7 separate regions of the Homo sapiens genome follow, and all the other regions are linked to region 2. The links are contacts of gene promoters, found by promoter capture Hi-C in blood cells and fetal thymus (Javierre and others, 2016). All regions are on one chromosome and are shown on one strand. Each heading gives the region's core, a stretch centred on a gene start or on the middle of the fragment in contact. The rest is flanking DNA. Distances are from core to core; before and after follow the strand shown.

Region 1 (3,647 bases), core at 719-3,218, 1.4 Mb after region 2:
GATAATGGAGATATACTAAGTGATTAAAAAGCACCTTGCAGAACTATACTAATGATTCAATTGAAAAACAAAAGCAAAGCTATACATTTCTGCATAACTATATATGTAAATGCCTGAAAAAGTCTAAAATGATGGATGCTAAACTGAAAATTGGAGGTTAAGTGAGTGAAAGGACGCTTTGGCCTTTTGCTTCCTTTACTTTTAAAATTATTGGAATGCTTTAAGTTTAAAATTTTCATGTATTAGTTAATAACTAATTATTATGAGGAATAATAGTGACTGGAACATATTAGCTGCTCAGTAAATACTAACTCCTCAACAGTTTCTCCCAAAACAAAGGAGCATGAGGCCTGCAGCCATCATACCAGCTGCTGTGGGTCTGGGAATGGCCTCTGAGAACAAGGTCTGCAGATGGAGGTGGGGAGAGATGTAGAGGAAGCAAGGGAACAGAGGTCTGTGCAGCTGGTCATGCTCCACCCCTGCCTGGATCTTGCATCCACCATCAGACTAAACATTATATTTCACCACATCTTCTGCTCCTCGAAACTGCTCTTTATTCTCCTAAGGAGAAGGAGGTATTATTAAGCTAAGCTAAAAATTTCTCTGCTGTCCTCAGAGGGAGAACTTTTATTTTTTAGGTTATTTATTATTCATTCTTTCTACTATAGACAATTTTGCCAAAGAAAAAAATATAAAGGAATAAAACCTTAAATACTCTGTAGTTATATACTTTGCTAATGGAAGTGGAAATGTTTCTGGAAGCATTTGGCCATGTACACATGGCAAGTGCCTTTAAAATGTTGTATTATTTGCCCCCAAAATTCCAACTATAAAAGTTAGTGTTGAAGAAAAAAATTTAGAGATTGATGCAAATATTTATGGATAAGGCTGTTCAATCTAGTAAAATCTACAGTAACAAAATGTAGAAACTGAAAAATCCAAAATAAAGAGTTTTAAAAATAATTCGGGTTTTTTATTTGTTTGTTTGTTCTTTTTTCTTCTTTAGGAGCGGCTTTCTGAGTCAGAGTAGGCTCACAGAGACTCCCAATAATTATATATTCATACAATGTAGTAGCTTGTAACCATGGGAAATCATGCTTTAGGTTTTGGGGAAATGATGAATGGAAAGAAAACCAAGTACTATCCCTAAAAGATACCAAAAATGGTTTAATATAAGGATCCAGTGTTATTAAAATTATAAAGAATTTCACTTAATTAAAATTATGATTCCTAATGGTTACATGGAACATGTTTTATGACTGAACCATGCATTGTTTGTCTATTCCCCACCTGTTGAATATGTATGTTGGTTCAGATTTTACTATATTATAAATACTTCTGTAATAAACACATTTACATATAAATCTATGAGGCACATCTCTTTTTTCTTCTTCTTCTTCAGAATTTCTCAGAATAGATGCCTTGAGTTGGCCAGAACAGATTTTAAGGGTTTTTTGTTTGTTTGTTTGTTTGCCCTTTTCTGACCACAATACGTTAAGAACATGCAGTTGGAATATTTCTTCATTCATGTTGTCTCCCTTTCCTTCCACTAAATCCCAACCTCTGCAGTTCCTTATACTTTGCAGTACTTCTCCCGTCTTCCCACGTGCCCATATGTGCATGTGCGAGTGTGCACATGTACACATGTACACACACACACACACACACACACACACACACACACACACACAGGCACTGCACCCCTTTCTCTGGGAGAGTACTCTCCCTGCATGCCCACTCACCACTCTCAGCGATTCAGCCCCGCTCCTCCCATGCGTTGTAGCCCAGGCTCTAATCAATTTCCTGCACTTACCCCTTGGTATTCCCATTGGAGAATCAGAGCCCACAGAATAAAGACGGTCAATCAATAATTCTCCATTCTTTCTATTATGGCTTAGCCTCTCATCCGGAAGAAAGGAAAAAGAGAAAGCAAATATTGTCTTCTCACCATGAGAAACAGTAAGAGTCGCTCTTTGGAAGAATTAGTTTTTTGATTGGCTCAGAGGTGATGTTTCTCATCAGTTGCTGGGCAGAAACCACTGAGGAACGTTGAAATGAAAACTGAAAGTACATTGAATTGTACACGTTGAGGAAAAACTCCAGCCCTACCTCCCTTAGTGTTTGTGTTTCTGTGTTTATCTATTTGAATCATTCTTGTGCGTGGATGTATATAAGTATTTCTTTATATTCACCTGTCTCGTGTCTTTTACATGGTAATAGAAATATTAGCAGAATGGAGTAGGAAAGTAAAAAAATTTAATGTGCAAAGAGAGGAAGATGTGCACTAATTAAGATGCTTCTGTGGCAGTTTGCTTGCATGTAGATAGGTACGTAGAAGAGGAGGATCTTTTTTACAGAGCCTAATAAAGGTATGAATGGAAAGAAAATGAGACAAACTGCACCTCTTTAAGAACTTCTGGCATTTAGGCTTAGGATATGGTATCAAATAATATAATTTTTCTGATTTCCAGAGGCAGTGCTGCTTGACATTGTTTTACCTTTCCCAGGAAATTCTTACTGCAGATCTTTCTGAGCATCTTCATTCACCCTCAGCTCCTGGTTTGTGCTATATTGTATTTTCTTGGGTATTTGTTTCTCACGCTGCCAGTGGAGTACATATTCTCTGAAGCTAGACACTCCATAGGCTGTGGTCTCTGTAAGGCTCGTTTCCTGTACACCATCTCTGTAAGGAGTTTATGGGACAATCTTGTTCTCCCTGTGGCTTACGACCTCAAAACACACTTTTTTGGGCTGCAAGCCAGAAATCTCCTAGAGCTAATATGTGACTGGAGCTGATGGGATTTGATTATATTGCAACAGTTTGAATTTAGGCTGTGTGGTATCTGCTTGAGATGGCTGGTTGCTTCTGCAGCGTGCATGCCCCCTTCTTCTTAGTGACAAGGCCTAATTTTCTGGGGTACTGCATCCTGCTCTTCCCCCTTGAAGATAGGGCAGGCCAAGGGACTAAGTTGGAGCCAGCGGTTTGTAGGTGAAAGTTGTGGGCTTGTACTTCTCCCAGAAATCCTTCAAAGGGAGGCCAAAATAGCTGGGAGTGTGAGGGTACACTCTCCCTTCTTCCTTCTTCCTCTTGCCTAGAACATGGACTTTGGACCCGGAGGTGCAGTAGCCCACCCTGGGACCATGAGGCAGCCTTGAGGTTGGAAGCCACACACTGGGACAGCAGAGAATGAAGTCAGAAGCAGGCTGGGGCATGAATGACATATCTGAGGTGCCAGATCAGCCCTGGACTGTCACCATCTAAATTTATTTAAAAAATTTTTTCTTTTAAAATATTTTATTATATATTAGTACTCAGGGTAAATTTCCAAATAAGTTTGTTTTTCATGAAAGGAAAACAAATCCTTGTTTTATTTAAGCCAGTGGTACTTCTGGTCTCTGTTATCAACAGAAAAACACAATTTTTCCCTCCCCCTTCCCCCTCCCCAACAGTTTATTATAAAACTTCTAAAACATATAGCAAAGGTGAAAGAATTTCAGTAAATTCCAATATATCTACCATGTAGATTGTATAATTAATATTTTAGTTTCTTACTTTATTATAAATCCATCCTGCTGTTCACCCCTATTCATCCATCAATATTTGTTTATTTGTTCATTTGTTTATTTTTAAATTCAGACTCTATCAG
Region 2 (3,851 bases), core at 387-2,886:
AGCCAATTTGCCAGGGAAAATCTTGAATACTTATAAGAATGCTAGAGAGCTCACAGAAGAAGTTATAGAAATCTAGCATTCTGAATACAAGAATGGATGAGGTAAGGGCTTTCCTGGCCCACAAGAAGCTGATTTGAGCATATCTACCAAGCTGATGTATTTCTTTCATTTGAGATTTTCCATGTGGGTATGTCTCCTTACTATTATATACCCATGCATTCATTCATTTATCCAACAAATACTGATCAAAAGCTCCTACGTTACTGGAGATATGCGAGTAAACAAAAGTTCCTCCTCTCATGAGCCTGTATTTTAGAACACACAAGCAATACATCAGCAAACTCTGGTACAGCATATAGTGACAAATTCTAGGGTGAAAAAAATAGGTGGGGATTATACAGATTTTATTTAGTCATACAAAGCCTCATTGAGAAAGTAACATTTAAGCAAAGACTCAAGTATTTTATCCTGTGCTCAAAAAAACTACCACAGGCTTACCTACAAGGCAGTCTTATTTTGAATACTCCTGACAGTTCAGAGTTTTAGCCACTGTCAGCAGAAGTCAGAGAAAACACTTTCTCTCCCACACGTATTTTTACATGGGGCTTCAAAGGGAATGTTCTCTGGCGGGCTTTCTCCAGAAGACTTTTAAACCTCAAACCATCTGTCATTAACTACATTTAAGTGGTTTAAGCAGGCCCAAAATCCGGCTTGAAAAAATTCAAAGAAAACTTAACACTGCTTAGGAACGGGGGGCGGGGAGAGAACGTTTCACTTTAGCCAGCATGAGCTACATTAACCTGAATTTTTCCAACTTCAGTACAACCTTAGTTTTATTTCTGGCGTGTTGGCAAGAAATATACACACACCACAGTACAGGTTAGCAGAAAATTAGAAGCACCATCCGGTCAAAACCGGGCTGCGGAGATGGGAGAGCAATACACGAAGGAACTTTTGGCTACACTCAATGCTTACGGAAAAATGCCGGACATTATTAGATGTTAAGACTCCCAAAATTAGCATTCAAAAAGGGATAGGCTGAGTCTTACGAAACAGATTGTATAACGTCTGGAAATGGGCCCTATCTACTACAGGCAAAACAAGTACCAGGAAGAATTCCTGAGAGAAACAGATCTTTTCAGCGCGCATGTGGGTGGCTCTGAAAAGAGCCTTTGGGTATGTAATCAGTGAGTCCTTGAGACTCAAGCCCTCTCGCCGCGGATACGACGTGCGAGCTGGATGTCCTTGGGCATGATAGTCACCCGCTTGGCGTGGATGGCGCACAGGTTGGTGTCCTCAAAGAGCCCCACCAGGTAGGCCTCGCATGCCTCTTGCAGCGCCATCACCGCGGAGCTCTGGAAGCGCAAGTCGGTCTTGAAGTCCTGCGCGATCTCACGCACCAGACGCTGAAAAGGCAGCTTTCTGATCAGCAGCTCGGTGGACTTCTGGTAGCGGCGAATCTCGCGGAGAGCCACTGTACCAGGCCGATAGCGATGGGGCTTCTTGACACCGCCGGTGGCCGGAGCGCTCTTCCGAGCCGCCTTGGTGGCCAGCTGCTTGCGCGGAGCCTTGCCGCCGGTGGACTTGCGAGCAGTCTGCTTCGTACGCGCCATGCCTTCAGAGCTAGATTCACTTCAGGAGAAAGAGAAAGCTAGCCGCTTATTTATAGTGAGAGTCTGAAGCTGATTGGACAAAAGTATGCTGAAGGCCTACCCAACAGTAACCGGATTGGCGAAGGACTCAAATTTTTGTTGTTCACCTATTCCTCTGACAGACTTAGCAGTTCATGGTCTCCATATTTTATTTTCTATTTTCGCTATACAGTTGTTCACTATACTAGCGATTTCCAGTGGAAATGAGAGCAATATAAGTAATTTACACTTATCTAGGAGAACATTGTAACAAAACAAGGAAAAATTAATTTTTAATATTTTGCTTAATCCAATATAGCCAACATATTTCAATGTTATCGAAATTAAAATTGTTAGGTATTTTACACTTTTTGGCACTGACTTTTCCAAATGCAATGTGTATTTTATATAAAATTCATGCTATGGAATTTCCAATGATCACTATCCACAATTGGCTAGTGGCTGCAATACTGGACAGGACAGCCTTATACACCTGTCCCCTCAATTTTCTATCTTTTGACCACTTAAATTTAAAAAACTTCTATTTTTATAACCAAGAAAAGCTGGTTCGCATGTGAGAAATTCAAGGCCAAAAAATGTCAAAGAAACAACTTTATGTGAACTTTTCACTTTTAGATTAAAGTAATTCCATTGCAGCTTATTTTTCCAATACTCTAGAAATGTAATTCATTTTCTTTTAAGAATCTATTCCATTCGTACATCCAGATCTGATTCAGATTAAAAACATCAAGTCAGATATTTTAAAAGTGGAATTTACCATGCTGAAACAAATTAAGTCATCTCTGTACTAAGAAATCAATTTGTGTGGCTGGGGGTGGGAAAGCTCGGGAAATTTTAATTTCAATGAATTTTCAGAAAATGCTTCAAAGAGAACTACCTGGCACCATAAGTAACTGTTCTAATTAGTCTAATAATTATTCTCAACTCAATCATTAATGTTCAAATGCAATTAATTATACAGATTCGAGAGATATTTCTCAGAAATGAAGAATCCAAGTCGTTGATCTAGATTTGGATTGAACGTCGAATGCCCGGTTTGTTATTTACCAAGACCCAGAAAACATCTGGCCCCAAAGCAGACATGTTTGCTTCAACAGACTAAAAGTAAAACCCGACGGTGAACCATACAGAATTCAACATACTTGGATAATGCCAGCTTAGGAAAAACTAAATTTTCTTCCACTAAGCTTAAGATGAAGGCGTGTTTAATACTTTTAATGTTATCCAGGCTTTTTATAAAGCTAACGAGATTGTCACTACCTAACCAAGACACCGAAGACTGATCTACGTAACCTTTGGAGTGGTTTAGAAGTAGGCAAAGACGAGAAATTACATTAAACATAGTGCTCAGTTCTTCCACAAAATTGTAGGTGGCTCTGAAAAGAGCCTTTGGTTCCTTTGGGATTGAGTTGCTGCAAACTAATCCAGGCTTCTACTTGCCCTTCGCCTTGTGGTGGCTCTCGGTCTTCTTGGGCAGTAGCACGGCCTGGATGTTGGGCAGGACGCCACCCTGTGCGATGGTGACTTTGCCCAGAAGCTTGTTGAGCTCCTCATCGTTGCGGATGGCCAGCTGGAGGTGACGCGGGATGATGCGAGTCTTCTTGTTGTCGCGGGCCGCGTTGCCAGCCAGCTCCAGGATCTCGGCGGTCAGGTACTCCAGCACCGCCGCCAGGTACACCGGCGCTCCAGCACCGACCCGCTCCGCATAGTTGCCTTTGCGGAGCAGGCGATGCACTCGGCCTACGGGAAACTGAAGCCCGGCCCGAGAAGAGCGGGTCTTGGCCTTGGCGCGAGCTTTGCCTCCCTGCTTGCCACGCCCAGACATGGCAAAAGGCCTATTATCTATACGGTCAAGAAAGACTGAAGTGAAACTAGAAAAACGTACATTTTATAGCCTCTACTGGGCGCGAAAAGGAAGCTGTGCGATTGGCTTACGTTTTATTTTTATTTAGACCAATAGGACTCGATTATGCAGGATACCTATTTTGATTGGGCAAAACTGGCATCTGTCGTCATCCACGGATAATTACCAATCAGCAGAGACCTTCCCACTACCTCGGCCGCATAAACTATTATATAAAAAGAGGAGACCGACTTCTTGTTTTGGTTTTGCCACTATTGTTTCATTATGCCCGAGCTGGCCAAGTCTGCTCCCGCCCCGAAGAAGGGCTCCAAGAAGGCGGTGACCAAGGCCCAGAA
Region 3 (3,899 bases), core at 1,179-3,678, 1.3 Mb after region 2:
TCTTCAGGTCCTTACTCTTTGCATTCTACCCTCTCCATCCTCACCCCTTTCTCTGTGCCAGTTCCCCTCTCAGCTTTTCAGTCCCTTTTCTTCCAGGCCTTGTAGCCCTGGCTCTAAGCAATTTTCCCCACTTACTCCTTAATATTCCTATCTGAAAATCATAGCCCACAAAAAAAGGTAATCAATAGTTTTCTGTTGTTAATAAAAACTTTAGACAAATTAAATTTAGCAGGGTTTAATTTGAACAAAGAACAATTTGCAAACCATCAGAACGATCGGGCAGCCATCAGAGAGGTTCAGTGAGCTCCATTCCACAAGGGAAGTGACACACAGAAACAGCTTAATTGGTTACAGCTCAGAGTTGGCCTTATTTGAACATAGTCTGATCACTTGGCTGCAGGGTTGACTGCCGCCGACTGAAGTTCGGCTACTGGGATTGGCTGAGACTCAGCTATTTGTTACAAAAGTATACTCCCATGCCTTAAGCTTTCAGTTAGTTTACATACTAAGTTAGGTTGCAGTTCATTATTTAAGGGCTCAAGAGCCATCCCTCAGGCTAAATGTATACATATCTCATACCAAATTTAGTTTAATTTAACACAATTATTTCTGCTTTAGTTAAGATTCTCTGATCCAGAATAAAGGAAAAGAAAGCATGTGCTGTACACTCGGTCCGAGAAACACTAAGAGAATCCTCTTTGTAGGAATTCGTGTTTTGATTGGCTCAGAGGTACCATTTCTCATCAGTTGCTGGGCAGAAGCCACTGGGGACGGTTAGAATGAAAACTGAAACGATATTGAATTGTACACATTGACGAAAAGTTTCAGCCCTACCTCTCAAAGTGTTTGCAGCTCTCTGTGTTTACATATTTGAATCATTAATGTGTGTGTTACGTGTACAATCAGTGTTTCTTCACATTCAGCTGTCTTTTATATCATAACAGAAATATCAGGAGAACTGAGTGGAAAAATGAAAAGATTTTAAGAAGAGAAGATAGGTATTAATTAAAATGATACTGTGGCAGTTTGCAGACATCCCCTTGCATGTAATTGTTACATGGAGGATATTATCATCTTTTGTTTTGGATATTATCATCTTTTACCACAGAGCCAAATGAAAGTATGAACATAATGAAAACTAGATCTATTGCATCTATTTTAGTACCTCCAAAATTCAGGTCTCAGATCCATTACCGAATTATAGAATTTTCTGGTATCCAGAGTTAGTGCTGTCTATAACTGCATATTTTATATTTTTCACAAAATTATTTTGGGTGTGACTGAAGCTTTCTTCACCTCTTGCTCCTTATTTGTGCCATACTGTATTTTCATGTGTATTTGTTTCTCACTCTGACAATGAAATATGTTCTAAGGTTAACCTTTGGGTAGACTGTGGGGGATGTCTTTGTAAGGGGTCCTTGCTACAAACCTTGGGACCTAGTGATAGCAGACAGGAGGCAGTCAGATGCCTAGGCAGGTAGCAATGGGTCCCCAGTGATACCCCACCTCCAAGCTGAAGACAGTTTAAAGCCTGAAAGCCAAACTACAAGGTAAATCCTCAGCCCAAATTGAGAACTTGTTGAGAACTTGTCTTCCTGTTTGGTGCACTTTCCTCTGATTGGTCCCCACCCTTCAACTACTTTCCATATACCCACACTTTCCTAATTGTTTTTTTACACTGTTGTGGCCATCTTTGAGTGGTGTCTTCACTTTAACCTTTTTTGCATACTCACAAACCATTCAGCACACACTTCCCATTCTGAGTCCATAAAACAGGCCTGGACCCAGCCACACAGGGGGAGCTTTCCTGCCTTCAGGTAGGGGTGCCAGCATCCCCTCTCTGCTGAGAGCTGTTCAGTCGCTTGATAAAATTCTTCTCAGCCCTCCTCACCCTTCAACGTCTAGTGTATCCTCATTCTTCTTGGGCATGGTACAAGAGCTCAGGAACTGCTGAACGTGGGTATAAGCTATAACACAGGTGAGCTGGGGCATGCCAGTTTAGCCAAGCGAGGCTTGGGTGGGGTGTTGCTGGCCAGAGGTCCCCTGCTTGCAAAGTGACAAATAAAAATCCTGTATCACTAGCACTTGCAACTTTAGTTGGGTCACAAATAAAATATAAAGGCCTATCATTTGTTTATGTTATAAAACAGACCCTTAAAGTAATTAAAACTCCTAGGACTTAGCTGAAACCTTGGCTGGTAGAAAATGATACTACAACAGTTTGAATTTAGGCTCTGTGGTAGAGTTGGCTGGCTGCTTGTTCAATAACAGATCTACTTTTCTCAGTAATAAAATCCCATTTTCTTATTGCAAGGTGTCCATCTCATTTGTAGACAGGGGAAGCCAAGGGACTAAGTTTGAGCCAATTGCTTGAGGGTGGAAGTTTATCAGACAGATTATTTAAGGGGAGGCTAAAACAGCTGGTAGACCCTTACACTCCCCTTACTTTCTACTTCCTCTTATCTAGAATATGGACTTTGGAGCTGGGCAGCCCTTTTGTGACCATGAGGCAACATTGAAGATGCAAGCCACATGCTAAGACAGAAGAAAATAAAGACAGAACTAAGCTGGGGCATGTATGACATTTCAAGCTCTCAGATCAGCCCTTGATGGCCACCATCCATATTTATTGACATGAAAAGAAGTCCTCATTTTGTCAAAGCCAATGATATTCAGGACTGTTATTAATAACAAAATACAATTCTTCCCTCTACCCACTACAGTGTATCATGAAACTCTTCAAACATATAGGAAAGTTGAGTATGGAATCTCTATCTCCAGCCTTGAGGTCTCACCTGGACTCTTGGTTATTCAATGGACTACTCTGCATCTCCATGTGCATCTCTAATATAGACTCCTCAACCTTAATGTATCCACAACTGAACCTTTGGTTCTGTACCACTCCCGTCTTGCTCCTTGTCTCTCCGTTTCCCCATCTCAGAAATTAACAACTTCATCTTTCCAGTTACTTTTCCTTCCTTCCTTCCTTCCTTCCTTTCCTTCCTTCCTTCTCTCTCTTTTCTTTTTTGAGAGTCTCACTCTGCCACTCAGGCTAGAGTGCAGTGGTGCACTGCAACCTCCACCTTCTGGGTTTTAGTACAGACAGGGTTTTACCATGTTGGCCAGGCTGTTCACGAACTCCTCACCTTAAGTGATCCACCTGCCTTGGCCTCCCAAAGTGCTGGGATGACGGGCGTGAGCCACCGTGCCCGGCCCATCTTTCCAGTTTCTTGGGACAAAAACCAAAGATCTACTTTTCTCCTTTGCCATATGAGGACACATTTAAAAGGCTGTGAACAAGGATGCAGGCTCTTACCAGTTACCAAACTGCTGGTGCCTTGGTCTTACATTTCCCAGCCCCCAGAGTGCAAGAAAAAAAATTTTGGTTGTTTATAAACGACTCAGTCTTGGTATATTTGTCATAGCTGTCTGGGCAGACTAAAACATGCACATAAACAACCCTGTTTTCTGCCTTAACAAATCAGGTATTTAAATATATGTTCCTGATTCTTCCCATAATGTGTCATTTGTAATTTCAGTAATATAATTTCAGACTGTTTAAAAAGCTTTTTGTTCAACCCAGTTTTACAACTGGATTACTGAGTTGTCTAAAATCCAAAACACTATCATTTAAGCCAGCATTTTAGATGCCTGATCGTTTCAGTCAGGGTTCTCCAGAGAGACAGAACCAATAGGGGATACAGACATGAGAGGGCATTTATTAAGGGAATTGACTCATGCAATTATGTAGCCTGAGAAATCCCATGACGGGCCATCTGCAAGCTGGAGACCCTGAGATTCTGGCAGCATGGCTCAGTCAAAGTGTGACAGCCTCAGAACCAAGCTGATGGCGTAACTCAGTCCAAAGACCCAAGGCCTGAGAACCTCAGGGCCACTGG
Region 4 (3,888 bases), core at 837-3,336, 1.5 Mb after region 2:
TTCACAGAGGAATTTAATATTCTGCTTTTAAGAAACAGAATGAGAGTCAGAGTGATATTCTTGCATCTGCTATTTTTCAAGTGCCTTTAACTCAAAATAGTCACTATGCCAGAGGGGCATAGTTTTTAACTCCTTCAGAATATATCTCTTCTAATATAAAGTATAATTTACTTATATAATCTACTTATTCATTTTGTGTTTTCTGTGTTGTCTCCTCCTCTCTTCCTTCAACTCCAAACCTCTTGAGGACATGGGTTTTTGTGTACTTTTGTTACTGTGTTCCTAGATTGCTAGATCCTATATTCTAGAATCCCAGTACCTAGCACAGTGGCTGGGGAGAGAAGCAGGCACAGGGTAGGTGCTCCATAAACATTTACAGTAGTCCCCTTTCTATCTGAGGTTTCACTTTGTGTGGTTTCAGTTACCCATAGTCAACTGAGGTCTGAAAATAGGTGAGTAATGTACAATAAAGTATTTTGAGAGACAGAGAGATCACATTCATATAACTTTTATTACTGTATGTAGATTGTTATAATTGTTTTATTAGTTATTGTTGTTAATCTCTTAAAATGCCTAATTTATAAATTAAACTTTATCATATGTGTGTATGTATAGGAAAAAACATGGTGTATATAGAGTTCAGCACTATCCAAGGTTTCAGGCATCCACTGGGGTCTTGGAACATAACTCCTGTAAATAAGGGGGGCTACTCTATTAAATTCATGAATCTCTTAATCCCCTGTGCAACTGGACCCAACTCCCAGTGTTTGTGATACACATCTAGAAATCTTTCTTCTTGATTTATTTTCTTCCAGTTGCTTTTTTTTAATCCAGCTCCAAAAGATGTTTTTCATGTTATTTATTTATTTATTTTCTGAATCCCACTCTCAAAGCAGAAAGGCTTACACATTCATCAAAGGGTGCATATATTTTTATTTGGTGGATTTGGGACAAGTTCCTAAATCACGGTGACCATTTAAGACTCAGGATGTCCACAGATTTCCCTATCTTTTTCAGTTTTCTCCCTTTTGGCACTTCCCAGTCTGGAAAGTCTCTCTCCTCCTTTTGGCATTCTTTGCTATCAGTGCAGTAGAGAAAGAAAGAAAAAGAAGAGAGAAAGGGTTATGACAGGCAAATTTTTATATTCTTGCATCAGAATTTCCACTTTCATTAAATGCTTGAGGGAGGCTGTGGGGCCCCTGGAAAAAGTCTTGTTCATCCTCTGGTACACAGGGTTACATACTGATCAGAGAGAGAGGAGGAAGCTTTTTCCTGTTCTTAGAATCAAGAAAAAAGGTGGGCTATGTAATTCTCAAGTATCACTGTATTCATTTTAAAAGGTTACTCTTCTTTTGAGGTTATATCCTTTTTCTAGTTTATAAAAGGATGCTCAGTGCAAATGGTGGGTTTTGCCATTAACAAGGCAGAACATGGTTTTGCATGACATTAGGACATTGACACTTTCTAATCCAATAAATTTCAAAGTCTGGAAACCAATGCTCAATCCCCACATTTTTTATACAACTTGGAATCTACAGATGACTAGAGGAAACCAGAATCAAACAGAGCTATGGAAGAAGCTGGGGACAGGGAGAGGTAATTATTACTAATTTTAATATTCTTTGCTTTGATCTAGAAACACACTTATGGACTCCATGTGATTTGAATCAATGATCTCATCTGGATGGAGTCAAATGTCTTATGTTTCATCATGATGTCAGCAATTGGAAATTACTTTTCCTTAATCCTAAATTATTATTAAATTCAGGCACACAAAATGTTATTTAGGAATACAAAATGTTTTTTATATATTTTGCACAGCTGTGTTCCCTGTCTTTTCCTGTTTGCACACACACACTGTAACCAGTTGGACTATTTTAATTACCTTTATATTTTTGCTTTGCAATATAAAATTCAATATTAGGTATTCTCATCCTTTTGATGGCAACACACCCACAACAAAAAAGTTAAAATGGAGAGTAAGAACTAGTAACATAGGCTTCAGCAGCTGCCAAAACTCCTTGGTACACGCGGATGTAGACTAAAAAAGAAATGTGAAGAGTTTTTGGCCTAGTGCTAAATCAGAAGAAGCAACAGGTTTCCTACTGTGCTAGCCACTGGGGCCTGGCATTAGTCTGAGACGCTACAGTTTGAGACAGCTTGGCTTATAGATCTGAATTTCTTTTTTTCAAGGAATTGAATCCTTGAATTGAATCTAAGCCTACAAAACCGAAACGCAGGTGCTTAAAATCCAAACTTGGGGAGAACCTGACAGCTCCAAAGTAGTAGATGGCTGTATTTCAGTTTTGACTTTCCAGTCTTTCTTCACTCTGTCACTTGTTCTCCTAAGGCCTTTGAGAATGTCTCCTTCTTCCCTTTAAAGGAGAGGAGATGGAAGAAAAAAAGGATTCAGAAAACCCAGAGAGTGTATGATTTATTTTTTTCTTGGAATGAAATGGGTAATAAAATTTTCATGCCCGAAAACGAACCCCACTTAACCACGAAGGGATTCGAACCCTCAATCTTCTGATCCGAAGTCAGACGCCTTATCCATTAGGCCACGTGGTCCCCCGCAGTTCCGTTGTTGCTGCAATACTTAGAAAATAAAACGAGCTTCCCCCCACCCGCCCCCTCCAACCCCCCGTGTTGGCATCTACAGCGCCCGTGTTTTCGCCAATGAGAAAATGAAAACTTTAGATTAGGTGGGATATTTGGGGCCACAGAATCGGGATTTATAAACGGTTGGTATCGACAATTATTTTAGTCTTGTGGTAATATAACTACTCCTTGGAGAGAAAAGTCGTTTGTTCTGACTCCCAAGGCAGAAGAAGCGGAGTTTATGGCATCTAAAAGATGCTAAAATTCTGCATATTGTCTGCATCGAAGGATATGTTAAAATAAGCTTACTCAAGGTTTCTTCCCTATGATGCTCATCCACATTCACCATTTACAGACTAGGTTCTTGCAGGGTCTGCCCAGATAGTTGTTAAGAAAACTGTACCTGGAAGGCAGTTTTACCACAAGGCAACATCTGTACCGTGGTCTTTCTCGCCATCCTGCATGGATATCTGCAGACCCCGGAGACAATTACCCCCTCTCCATGCTGTTCTGGTACTTTCTCTGATTGTGATAATGTGATATCAGAGCACTTTTCGTGGTATGGTTCTGTTTAGAAAGGAAAGAAAATACTTTCCTTGGGGTTTCTCAGGAGTGCCGAGCGGACTAGAGCCATTACCAGTTTTTGAGGTTCCCATATATTAAGAAGTGAAGGAACACGAAATAGAAATGCAAAAATTTTTATTATTAACAATTTTTACATTTAATAGATGAATCAACACGAAAATGTAATGCATTAGCATCATACTATGGAGAAGATATTTATAGAATTTATAATGTTCCGTAGCGCTCTTGGCCCCATCATGGCATATAAAGTTCTATTTTGTGTGGCTTCTTTCAAGCCTGTCAGTGAATCTCTGTGAAGTCAAGTACTTCATTTGAAGATAATGTCAACAGCCTACATATAAGACATTTCCTTAATTTTCCTAAACCCCAGATACTGGGAATAATGGCTCTCCTGGCTCATTTGTGATAAGTCTTGGTTTCTCTTGGTTAGCAAATATAGCGGCTTCTGGTGCATAGAAATTGGGCCTTTTACATAGTCTTTCTTTCCCTATCCATAGAATAACATCTGACAAATAGTAGGAGCTCAATAAAAATATGCCGAATTTCTCATTTATTTTCGAATTCTGCAATCATCTTCAATGTGAGAATTATTATTATTATTATTATTATTATTATTATTATTTTTGAGACAGAGTCTCACTCTGTGGCCTAGGCTGGAGTGCAGTGGCACCATCTCAGCTCACCGAAACCTCTGCCTTCCAGGTT
Region 5 (3,833 bases), core at 40-2,539, 1.5 Mb after region 2:
TTCTGTTTGTGAATTCTCAATCGTAACTCTCACAGAATGACACAAGGTTTTCCCAAACGGACGTGGTGGCTCACGCCTGTAATCTAGCACTTTGGGAGGGCGAGGCGGGCTGATCACTTGAGATCAGGAGTTCCAGACCAGCCTGGCCAACATGGCGAAACCTCCTCTCTATTAAAAATACAAAAATAATTAGCTGGGTGTCGTGGCACATGCCTGTAATCCCAGCTACTCTGGAGGCTGAGGCTAGGAGAATCGCTTGAACTCAGGAAGCAGAGGTTGCGGTGAGCTGAGATCGCGCCACTGCTCTGCAGCCTGGGCGACACAGTGATACATCTCAAAAAAAGAAAAAAAAATTCCCCTGTATTAAGTTTTATCAAGCAATGTGAAAATTGGTCAGTTCTGAAACTTATCAATTTAGTGATGTGATTTAAAAAAAAAAAACTCTTATGTATGTAAAACAATAGTGAACTGAAGCTGGAGTCTATATTATAAAAATTTTTGTCATCTTGTGTAATTCTTTTAAAAATTAAAATGATAAAATACATAAAATGTATATGAGTGCCCAGGGAAGGGGCATTTATGTAAACCTCAAAGTTTCCACTAAAGTCGAACGAGCCAGCCAGGAGTCGAACCTGGAATCTTCTGATCCGTAGTCAGACGCGTTATCCATTGCGCCACTGGCCCTCTGACGAACGAAGACAGGCGTTATACCTATAGAAAAAAACGTTTTGGGATTACCGCGTCCTCCTATACATGAATATATGAAATTTTATTTCTTTCTGATCATAAGGATTTTGAACCCAAAACCCTCCAATTAAAACAAAATATAGTTTTATTTGTTCCTTTGACTTGTTTTACTCATGAAGTATGATTCCTTCGTGGGTAATGAGAAATCCATCCTTGTGCACAATGATTCCTTCCTGAACAATGAAATATCCATTATGATGTAACTTGTAAAAGATCAGAGATAAGGTTTACTTTGGGCAATGAGAAATCCATTTTGAGGACCTCTGAGACATAAATTGAAATTGTCCTGCCCTGAATCCCCAAGAAATCCATTTTGATGTTAACTTGTAAAAGATCGAAAGCCTTTTTACACGTGAAATATCGATCGGTCGGATGAAACCTGCTTGAAGATGCAAAAACCCACTGCCGTAGTCGGCAGGATTCGAACCTGCGCGGGGAGACCCCAATGGATTTCTAGTCCATCGCCTTAACCACTCGGCCACGACTACAGATACCAAAAACCTTATTAAATGTCTTACATGTTTCCATACATCACATATTGTACTCCTTTTATTAGGGATTTAATAATAGCTGAATTCGTATCTTAAGAATAAAACTTGGAAGCAATCAACAAACTTCAAATTCAGGCACATACATGATACGCTAAGAATGTTCTTTGGGTCTTTTTTATAATGCAAATCAGGAATATGTTTCAACAACTTTTACAATTCTCATATTTTTGCCTAGTAAGAAAATTATCCTCAGGCCGGGCGCGGTGGCTCACGCCTGTAATCCCAGCACTTTGGAAGGCCAAGGCGGGTAGATCATGAGGTCAGGAGTTTGAAACTGCCCAACATGGCGAAACCCCGTCTGTACTAAAAATACAAAAAAATTAGCCAAGGTGGTGGTGCACGCCTGTAATCTCAGCTACTCGGGAGACTGAGGCAGGAGAATCGCTTGAACCCAGGAGGCGGAGTTTACAGTGAGCCGAGATCGCGCCATTGCACTCCAGCCAGGGCGACAGAGCAAGACTCCGTCTCGGGGGTAAAAAAAAAATAAAAAATAGATTAAAAAAATAAAAAGAAAGAAAATTATCCTCAGTAAATAACACTGATGTTCCACAGAGATCCCCTATATTTTCTGACAAAGTCCAGTGCCTGCGATATACTAACGGCTCAACAAATGTCAGTACAATTGTAACTATCATTGTAAAACCCCAGAATCTAGATTCATCAAAAGGTTCTTCAGTGAAGATAGGCTTCTGTCTTTTCATAAAACTCAGAATATTTTAACCAGCTGAAAGAACATTTCTGAAAGAAACTAGAAAGTAAAAAATATTTTTGCTGGTCAAATCCTCTTTCGTTTATGGGGCCTTCTCTCACAAGGGGAAGAACAACTGCATCTGATATTCTGTGAATAGTTTGAAATTATATTCAAAGACCACTTCCAAAGGAAGAGCAGAACCCCAGGTTCTAAAACTGCACTACCATTACCACAATACTATGCGTGTGTGTGTGTGTGAGTATTAGTGAGCAAGTCAGGGATTCTGTATTTCATCAATGGCCCAACTCTATGAACAGAAGAAGGGTAAGGAATGATTGATGAACTACTGCTCATGTGCGGATGGATTGAAAATCGTCTCTACTCCAGATCTCTCTCCTCTGGGCTCCAGAATATACAGTTGTCCTATTTTTTTTTCTTGCATGTCCATGGGCATCTCAAAAGCAATGCAACCCCAAAGGAATGTTCCATCATTTTCCTCAAACTTAAATTTCCTCCAACAATCCAAATTTTTGATGAGATACCAAAACCGAAGACTGGCTACCAAGACCGAAGACTACCCTTGTCCTTTTATGTCTCTCTGATTCCCTTCCCAGCAGGCCCTCAATTCAACCTTCTAATTAGCTCTCAAATCTGGCTCTTCTTCCCCAGCCCTCAGACCACCTTTTTTTTTTGTTTTTTTTTGACGGAGCCTCGCTCTGTCATCCAGGCTGGAGTGCAGTGGCACGATCTTGGCTCACTGCAACCTCCGCCTCCCGGGTTCAAGCAATTCTCTTGCCTCAGCCTCCCTAGTAGCTGGGATTACAGGTGCGCGTGCCACCATGCCCAGCTACTCAGACCACTTTTTAAAATGAGGTACTTAGTTTAGGTACTTAGAAGTACTCATGAGAAACTTCTCATTAAGTTATTGCAACAACTTCTTAGTCTTTTGGCCTCCAGTTCCTGATCCCTTAAATAATATATTCATTTATTCATTCTTCCAAAAATTTTATTTTTTTAGAATAAAAATAAGCACTTTGTATATGGGTAGTGAGACAGAGAATTGCCTATTTTTTTCAAATTCTTTTTATGTGAAATAGCAAAAGCCAAGCACTTTGCTAGGTACTGCTCATTCAATGGAGAGCGAGATTTCTAAAGGATTACAGAAGTTAACAATAAAACAACTGAGTGCAAGTGAGAAGTGCAGCCCTAACACAGTAAGTAGCCCACAGAAAGAGTTCTGGATCTCAACCACAAAGGTTTTAGGTGGTTGCCTGGAGGGTCACTTAGACTCCAAGCTTCACGAAGAAAGGTTCTAGTTTTACCTTCTTTACCTCTGAGTCCTCCATAGGTGCTTAATTAAGTATTTTTGGAATGAATTATACTTAAGCTCAGATCTGGATCTGAAGGATGTGTTAAAATGAGACAAATTGGTGTGGGGTGAGAAAACGGGGTAGGGTAGTGTTCCAAACCTAAACCTCAAGGAATATGGGAGAAACTGAAGAAAGTTCCCTCTAGTTGAAACATTGCTTTTTGGAGGGGTACTGGGAAGGGCATTGATGAGAGATAACACCGGAAATGTAGTTGAGGGCAGATTATGTAAGTAGAGCTAAGTTAGCACTAACCCAGAATGTGTTTCTGACTGTGTCCCTTACCTCCTTTAATGCCTTTAAGGTACCCTGTGGCCTAGCGAGAAGATCGCAGATGACATGGGAGGCCTTCATCTTCTGCATCTGTCCGACCTTTTCAGCTCCTCTTCTGGTCACTCTGTCAAGGGGGCCTGGAACTCCTGAGAAGTGAAAGGACCAGCCCTATCTCAGATGGTGCGGGTTTCTTCGCCCTGACCT
Region 6 (3,827 bases), core at 989-3,488, 1.6 Mb after region 2:
GTCTTAACAAAGGCTCTTTTCAGAGCCACCCATGTATTCCTTAAAAGGGCTCACATTTTCTGTGTAAATAGCTATTTTGCAGTTTTCTTTAATAATTTTTCCATTTATAAGTGGGTGTTCTTAACACTGAATCGTGAAACTAACCGTCCATTTTAAAGATGCCATAAAAATACATAAGCAAATTGGCGGGGCGCGGTTCCTTACGCCTGTAATCCCAGGACTTTGGAAGGCCAAGGTGGGCGGATCACAGGGTCAGGAGTTCCAGGACAGCCTGACCAACATGGTGTGAAGCCCCGTCTTTACTAAAAATAAAAAAATTTGTCGGGCGTGGTGGCGCGCGCCTGTAATTTCAGCTATTTAAGAGGTTGAGGCAGGAGAAAATGTTGAACCCCGGAGGCGGAGGTTGCAGTGAGTCGAGATCGCGCCACTGCACTCCAGTTTCGGCGACAGAGCGAGACTGTCTCAAAACAAACAAAAACCCAAAAAAGCAAACTAATTAAAATGCAAAGAGACTTTATGTCACATGTAATTTAAATCGATCAATGCAGCGGCTCGTTAGGATTGCAAAGCTGTTAAAAGGCCTGAGACATACAGGAGAGAAGTTAATGTTTGTCAGTGTTTACATTTACATAAAAATATAGTTAGTGACTTAAAGCAACAGAACCAGAACAAATGTTTTATTGTCTTTTGTATGCATCTTAATGATACGAAATAACCTGTAATTTGTAAGTATTTTTTGGGTTTGTTTTTGCAAGCCACTTTCAACTCTACTGAGCTAACCCTAATTAATTATCAATAGGAATACAAACCTACATCCCCTGGAGCCAGACGGCCCTTAGGTGGAGCTTCTTAGCACAGTGTTCAGCATGACTAAAAGGGCACACTGGTCTTTTTGTGCCATTTATAAATTTGGCTTTTTTTTTTTTTTTTTTTTACAGCAGATTACACAAATACCAGTTGAACTTGTAAAAGATAAGAGTGCTTTCATATGAGGATGACATATTGTGGTGAAATTAAATGTGTTCATGTAGCTTAACATCAGGTTTCATATTGTTACTTATGAGTTAATAGTCATGGTGCATTTGGAACAAATTATTGAAAATATCTCCAAGTTTAAATAGACAAATCAAGATATGAAATTAACCTTTCTAAACTTAAGAGGGTAAAAAGAAATCACTTGGCCAATCACAACTAGCGCGCGTCTTTTTAAAACGTTGATCAAAGCCAGTTTCAGCGCCAACATTTAAAAAAAAATTAAGACACGTCATCCTAGTAGCTAGACACAATTTTGCCAAGGAAAACCAAAGTACGTTTTAAATAAAAGCTAGAAACATGGCACAGAGGGGAAAGGGTTGAAAACACCAGCAGTTAAAGATGGACGGAGGAAAGTTTTAATATTTGGTCTACATGCAGGAGATGTTCTGTCAGGGAGTGGGCGTCTCCACCAATCGAGCTGCAGGGGAAAGGCTGCCTTGTCCAATCAGAACAGGGGTGTCTTTATATATACGGGTACGAAAGGCTAGACTTTCGTTTTTTCGTCATTTAGCAGGGTTTAGAAGTTCGCAATGGCTCGTACCAAGCAGACTGCTCGCAAGTCCACGGGTGGGAAAGCGCCACGCAAGCAGCTGGCCACCAAGGCTGCTCGAAAGAGCGCTCCAGCCACCGGCGGCGTGAAGAAGCCCCACCGTTACCGGCCCGGCACGGTGGCTCTGCGCGAGATCCGCCGCTACCAGAAGTCGACCGAGCTGCTGATTCGCAAACTGCCATTCCAGCGTCTAGTCCGTGAGATCGCGCAGGACTTCAAGACTGATCTGCGTTTTCAGAGCTCGGCGGTGATGGCGCTGCAGGAGGCCTGCGAGGCCTACCTGGTGGGGCTGTTTGAGGACACCAACCTATGCGCCATTCACGCCAAGCGAGTGACTATCATGCCCAAGGACATCCAGCTTGCTCGCCGCATTCGTGGGGAGAGGGCGTAAATTGTCTTGTGAATGTGTGCTAACCAAAACCCAAAGGCTCTTTTCAGAGCCAACCACCTTTTCTATAAAAGTTGCTGTTTACTGTTGCTGTCCGTAAACTGGAACCTCTGTTCACTCAAGGTAAGTAAGCATTCTTGCCTCTATCCGTTCCCCCTCCCCTCACGGAATTGGTGCAAAAAGCTTTATTATAATTGGGGAGTTCTTAAAACAGCCTTTAAGGTACTCTTATATCTCCTTGTTTTGGGGGCCGCTTTCTTAGGCTTGGATGCCTCCGGCTTGGGAACTTTCTTGGCCACCTTTGACCAACCAACCTTCTCCAGCAGCCTCCACCAGCAAAAGCTTTTGGGGTCCGCTTAGTACTCTTTTTCGGAATAAGGACGCCCCAAGCTTTCTTGGGCCTCTCGGCTGCCAGGACAGCTGTCTTGGGCATGACTGCAGCGGCTTTTCTGGCCTCGGTCTTGATTTTCCTAACACTGCCTGGTTTGGCGGGAATGAACCTGAGGCGCTGCACTCCTTAGCACGAAGATGCCCTCGTTTGTTTTCAAGGCCCAACTTTATTCAAATAATTTTTAAAAATTTGTATTTATTTTTAGGGACGAGGTCTCACTGTGTTACCCAGGCTGGCCTCAAAACTCCTTAGCTTGGCCAGGCGAGGTGGCTCAGGCCTGTAATCACAGCACTTTAGGATGCCAAGGCGGGCGGATCACGTGATGCCAAGAGTTCGAGACCAGCCTGCCCAACACATTGAAACTTCGTCTCTACTGAGAATACAAAAATTAGCCGGGTGTGGTGGCACACGCCTGCAGTCCCAGCTACATGGAAAGCTGAGGCAGGAGAAGGGCTTGAACCCGGGAGGCGGAAGTTGCAGTGAACCGAGATCACACCACTGCACTCCAGCCTGGGCAGCAGAGCTAGACTCCTTCAAAAAAAAAAAAAAAATCCCCAAGGACAAACAAAACCACCAAAAACAACTCCTTAGCTTAAGAGATTCTCCCGCCTTGGCCTCACAAAATGCTGAGATTACAAACGTAGGCCACCGCGACCGGCAAGGGCCGATCTTCATATCGTAGCCGCCAACACCTACTTGAGCGCGGCCACAGAGAAGGCCGCTGCGCTTCTTGGAGACGGCTAAGTCATTAGTGATGAACTCACATACCGGAGGGGCCTGGACATCTTGCACTTCACTGCAACTTCGGACTTGCAACCTTTTTCTTTACTTCAGTCTTTGACTTGGGAGATAGACCAGGAGTCACGGCATGTACAGTTTCGGACATGATTGTAGGTTTGGATATCTAACAGTTAAAAAAAAAAAAAGTCAGGCTGCGAGTGTGTCTGTGATTACGTGTGTGTCACACACAGACACGCTGCGCGCTGATTGGTTCCCAGCTCAGTCTTTCAGCTTGGCAGCAACCTAGTCTCAACCCTGTTTCTGAGTTGTGTTTGCGGAAATTCAGAAAATCAAAATAGTTTAAATTTCCTGAGGAGGAATCACACCAATTCTATTCTACAATGAACTGGAACGGCTACGGTGTTATGATCTTTACATTTTCTTTCTCTAGTTTTTACTTAAGGCAGCCTCGGCCTTTATCAAAAGTTCCAACTTTCAGAGATTCACAGTTCAGAGGGACAACTTCTTGATTTTCATTTAAAATATAAATTCTTCCATTCGTGTCTTCAATTGTTTGCTGTCTTCTAATAATAGCCTACACATTTTTGGCTTCTCATACATTGAACAACTACTTGATTTTCATTGAGATTTAACGAGGAAATCTGTTTTATATGAGAAGAGAAACAACAGGTTCTTTTTGAATTTCTCCACAAGAACAGCAGTACGGATACTTAGAACAACAG
Region 7 (3,621 bases), core at 32-2,531, 1.6 Mb after region 2:
CTCGAACTCCTGACTTCAGGTGATCCACCCACCTTGGCCTCACAAAGTGCTGGGATTACTGGCGTGAGCCACCACGCCCGGCCATTTTTATTAATTCTTAAAATGTAGCAATACTTCTTAAATTTGGCCAATCATGAGACTTAGCGTTTGGCAGAGACATATACATTCACATCGTTTTTGGCATTCCTAATAAAGAAAGACCTCTAGTAAGGGAAACCAATATTAATTGAAGTTTCATTCTTAGTTTTTCAATGTATAATGCAATATCTGAGGTGTAAAGATAAGGAATCCCAGGCTTGAAGACATTATCCTCTAATAAATGGCATTGTATTGTTGGCTCGATTCTGGAGTCTCACTACCTTGCTACCTACCACTGCTTTCATGCCACTAAAGCATACATGGTAAATCATGGTGAATAAAGGTTTGTAAATTAACAAAAATAATACTAATAAATTCTGTGAAATACTGTCCTAATAAAAGATTCCGGAAGAAGTGTTCTACACACAGATCATAGGGTATGTGTAGTAGAAAAATTCAACATTAACTCTTACAGTCTACTGCTTCACATTCATTGCCTCCTATATACTGCAAGGGTAACTTAAAAATCCCGTCTCTGCTGGTGCCTAAAAGCAGTGAGAAGATTATTCATTTTGTGGAGTTAAGAGTCTACTTAAATTTTGGCTTAGGTTCAGTTACCTGTAGGAATAGACACAAGGATCTCAAGTGCTCTCCTTTTTGAGGTAGGCACCAAACAAGCATCATTCATTCATTCAACAATTTAATGTCCACTACATGCCAAGAATAGTGTACAAATACCAGGTTTACAAAGATAATCACATTTATTCTCTTAAAGAACTCAAAAGTTTAGTAAAGGGAAAAGTACACTCAGGGTTAGGGGGCAGATATCAGACCAGCATACTTCTACTTACTGTCAGGTATTTAAGGGCGGAGCAGCCATATCCCAGCTATACTGGCATCACTCTGAAGCTTGTTAGACATACAGAATTTCGGGCCCAACCCCAAATCAATGGAATTGATATTACATTTTTAATGAGATCTCTAAGTGGGTGGTAGGTATGCTCTTCCAAGTTTGAGAATAATTGTTTTAAAGCTCTGCTGTCCTATATTAGCCACTAGCAACATGTGCTCATTTTTATTTAAATTAATTTAAATTAAAAATTAATTTGCACACTTACTCTAGCCACATTACGGTACTCAGTAGCCACATATGGTTAGTGGCTACCTATTGGACAGTGTTAATACAGAATATTTTTATCATCGCAGAAAGTTTTATTGGGCTGTATCTGTGATAAGGGGGTTTCTTCTGAAGAGCTTCTAATCCAGTCTAGAAGGGAGGAGGGAGTTTGGTGGATGCCTGAGACATGTAAAGAGAAAACTGTAAGTTTGAGTATAGTAGTGGCCTTCTTAGGAAATAAAATTAACACAATACTGTTGTACTTGAAGAGGAATTTCAAGGAGCCAGTGTCCTCAGGTAAGACTACCTCATAGACGGTTACAATCGATGTGATTTCTCATGGACTTTTTGAACACGTTTGATTCTAACACAAAGCTTTATTTTCTATAATAGTCTATATATGTTTTCACCCCTTTTAATATTTATTCTATATAGTTTCTTTTTTTTTTTTTGGAAATCTTTAAAATCTGAATTGTGTGATGCTTAAGCACAGTGTCACTGGATTGATCTATTGAATACTACCTACAACTCTCATAGTCATTTACTATGGTGGTGGTGGGGATGGGGGAGTTAACACAAAATGAAGAGAACACTGGGCCTTAAGTTAGATAGCTATCACTTATCTAACTAGTTTTTCCTAGCTACTTTTTGCATCTATAAAATAAATGGTTCCAACCTCAGTGTAATGGGAAATCTACTGTTTTAGATTATATTCAGATTTAGGATTCCAAAGCAACACAGAACTCTTTTTGAGGGCTACCAAAGTAATAGGTGAAACTTTGCAGGACTTCAAGTTTACAGTCCATGGGGTGATCCAGCTTTCAGGAACCTTGTCCTTGCTACAATTACAGAGAAGATAAGTACCAGGTCCCAACTTATGTAGCCTAGCCCCTTTCCTCTTTGAACATCTGGCGAACTTTGTTGGTGAAACTGAGTCTCAGTTATTGCCCTCCAGAAAGAGCAGAGATTAGTTAGCCCAATGCCTTTTTACTTACTGAGATCCTAAGTAGCTATGGGAACCAGTCAGTGTTGCACAAGAATGAAATGGTGGCATCTGTTAATTGACTATATCTAACACGGTGAACAATTCCAACAATTATTCAACAACTATTAAGACTACAATAATGATCAAAATAATAAACAGTAAACAATCTGAATTTTAATTGTACCTTTACGTCTAGGCAATATAAAGCTATGGTCCCAAAAAAAAATACTTAGAGTATGCTTGTGACTATCACTGTTGAAAATGATATCCATAATGATGCACCGCCCCTGCCTCCAGAAACCTATAAAATGCTTCCCTACTGGAATTGTGGGGTCCTACTAATCCAATTCTATAAGTTTAGCTTTTTTATAAACCACATTTGTATTTCAGTGGTGTATAACACGGTCTTAAGTCCCAGAGACTTGTTTCTAATACATGCAAGAGAGTAAATAATTACTTAAGACAAGCTTAGTAATTTTTTTTTTTGAGATGGAATTTCACTCTTGTTGCCCAGGCTGGAGTGCAATGGCACTATCTTGGCTCACTGCAACCTCCGCCTTCCGGGTTCAAGCGATTCTCCTACCTCAGCCTCCCAAGTAGCTGGGATTACAGGCGTGTGCCACCATGCCCGCCTAATTTTTGTATTTTTAGTATAGACAGGGTTTCACCATGTTGGTCAGGCTGGTCTTGAACTCCTGACTCAGGTGGTCTGCCCAGCATGGCCTCACAAAGTGCTGGGATTACAGGCGTGAGCCACTGCGCCTGGCCAAGACAAGCTAAGTAATTTTTATGAAATTAGTTGAATGAGGAGAGATGACATCTTTAAAGTTGATTATTTTATCTAGGATTTATATGAAAAAATCCTCTAATCACTATTGAGTGTAGGCCAGAATAACTTGATTTTTTGAAATGAGTATTTTTGTTAGAAGAAACATAACATCAAACTACTTCTCTTGTTTCTTCAACATAGGAGTTCATTTCAGCATCTGATTACTTGATGGAGAATATCAATTTTGTGCTTAATTATTTAATAATAACCTAATTCCATCAGCTGTATTGCAAACTAACAGATAAAGAATACTGAAGTTACTCATGTTTGCTTTGAAATGTTTGTTCAGCTCCTTAGGTGGACATATTCAACCAATTAATTTAGGGTGTGACAGCTTAGTTCATATTTTGTGTGTAAAAAGCCAAGTAGAATGATGAAAATTTACAGTGATTTAAATCAGATATTTTTCTTTCTAACCCTTGATGCCCACACTTGCAATGTTGAAAATTTGTATTTTATTTTTTTAAAGTGACTTTTACCAGTTATTCAAACAGGTTGTACAGAGAAAGAGGAAGGGAAATTTGTATTATAAATATGATTTTAAAATATAAAAAATGTACAAAATTCTATGATGAATATTAGCAAAAAAATAGTGTATTTCATTAAATTATT

Evidence for each region. Contacts are between HindIII fragments. The CHiCAGO score rates a contact against its expected background, and 5 or more counts as called.
Region 1: the fragment with the promoter of BTN3A2 here is called in contact with the fragment with the promoter of H3C10 in region 2 in 12 of 17 cell types (M1 macrophages, monocytes, activated CD4 T cells and 9 more); the score reaches 11.6 in M1 macrophages.
Region 3: a fragment that was not itself captured here is called in contact with the fragment with the promoter of H3C10 in region 2 in 1 of 17 cell types (monocytes); the score reaches 5.1 in monocytes.
Region 4: a contact is called between a fragment that was not itself captured here and the fragment with the promoter of H3C10 in region 2, in 2 of 17 cell types (erythroblasts and M0 macrophages). The highest score is 8.2, in erythroblasts.
Region 5: a contact is called between a fragment that was not itself captured here and the fragment with the promoter of H3C10 in region 2, in 5 of 17 cell types (total B cells, total CD8 T cells, monocytes and 2 more). The highest score is 11.5, in total B cells.
Region 6: a fragment that was not itself captured here is called in contact with the fragment with the promoter of H3C10 in region 2 in 17 of 17 cell types (fetal thymus, total CD8 T cells, erythroblasts and 14 more); the score reaches 41.7 in fetal thymus.
Region 7: a contact is called between a fragment that was not itself captured here and the fragment with the promoter of H3C10 in region 2, in 16 of 17 cell types (erythroblasts, fetal thymus, megakaryocytes and 13 more). The highest score is 30.2, in erythroblasts.

The regions. Positions count from the first base shown.
Region 1 is chr6:26,363,519-26,367,165 of GRCh38, reverse strand. BTN3A2 (butyrophilin subfamily 3 member A2) reads right to left here and starts at 1,968. Exons shown (of 11, transcript NM_007047.5): 1 at 1,814-1,968. RefSeq lists an enhancer at 1,961-2,010. The HindIII fragment of the contact is 4,055 bases long and covers 1-3,647 here.
Region 2 is chr6:27,807,836-27,811,686 of GRCh38, reverse strand. It overlaps H3C10 (H3 clustered histone 10), which reads right to left and starts at 1,636. Exons shown (of 1, transcript NM_003536.3): 1 at 1,151-1,636. The coding sequence starts at 1,613. The coding sequence ends at 1,203. H2BC13 (H2B clustered histone 13) reads left to right here and starts at 3,758. Exons shown (of 1, transcript NM_003519.4): 1 at 3,758-3,851. The coding sequence starts at 3,781. It overlaps H2AC13 (H2A clustered histone 13), which reads right to left and starts at 3,514. Exons shown (of 1, transcript NM_003509.3): 1 at 3,020-3,514. The coding sequence starts at 3,477. The coding sequence ends at 3,085. RefSeq lists enhancers at 627-1,298, 1,393-1,682, 1,299-1,970, 2,654-3,252, 3,171-3,370 and 1 more. The HindIII fragment of the contact is 5,605 bases long and covers 1-2,841 here.
Region 3 is chr6:26,470,762-26,474,660 of GRCh38, reverse strand. It overlaps LOC285819 (a long non-coding RNA gene), which reads left to right. Exons shown (of 4, transcript NR_038992.1): 4 at 2,468-2,717. It also overlaps a transcript of BTN2A1 not described here. Among named protein-coding and RNA genes, the nearest start is that of BTN2A1, 15 kb to the right of the region's middle. RefSeq lists an enhancer at 777-826. The HindIII fragment of the contact is 2,280 bases long and covers 1,289-3,568 here.
Region 4 is chr6:26,298,357-26,302,244 of GRCh38, reverse strand. TRR-TCG4-1 (tRNA-Arg (anticodon TCG) 4-1) reads right to left here and starts at 2,568; the gene lies at 2,496-2,568. LOC124901287 (a long non-coding RNA gene) reads right to left here. Exons shown (of 2, transcript XR_007059520.1): 2 at 3,281-3,888. The HindIII fragment of the contact is 1,637 bases long and covers 1,268-2,904 here.
Region 5 is chr6:26,324,991-26,328,823 of GRCh38, reverse strand. TRS-AGA2-1 (tRNA-Ser (anticodon AGA) 2-1) reads right to left here and starts at 1,235; the gene lies at 1,154-1,235. It overlaps TRR-ACG1-1 (tRNA-Arg (anticodon ACG) 1-1), which reads right to left and starts at 684; the gene lies at 612-684. It overlaps LOC101928743 (a long non-coding RNA gene), which reads left to right. Exons shown (of 3, transcript XR_241992.5): 3 at 3,661-3,833. The HindIII fragment of the contact is 3,995 bases long and covers 1-3,286 here.
Region 6 is chr6:26,194,989-26,198,815 of GRCh38, reverse strand. It overlaps H3C4 (H3 clustered histone 4), which reads left to right and starts at 1,530. Exons shown (of 1, transcript NM_001376937.1): 1 at 1,530-2,032. The coding sequence starts at 1,566. The coding sequence ends at 1,976. H2AC7 (H2A clustered histone 7) reads left to right here. Exons shown (of 1, transcript NM_021065.3): 1 at 1-32. It also overlaps the pseudogene H1-12P. RefSeq lists enhancers at 1-31, 1,201-1,801, 2,180-2,289, 1,802-2,403, 3,150-3,199 and 4 more. The HindIII fragment of the contact is 159 bases long and covers 2,159-2,317 here.
Region 7 is chr6:26,235,881-26,239,501 of GRCh38, reverse strand. No RefSeq gene overlaps it. Among named protein-coding and RNA genes, the nearest start is that of H4C6, 2.7 kb to the left of the region's middle. The HindIII fragment of the contact is 583 bases long and covers 990-1,572 here.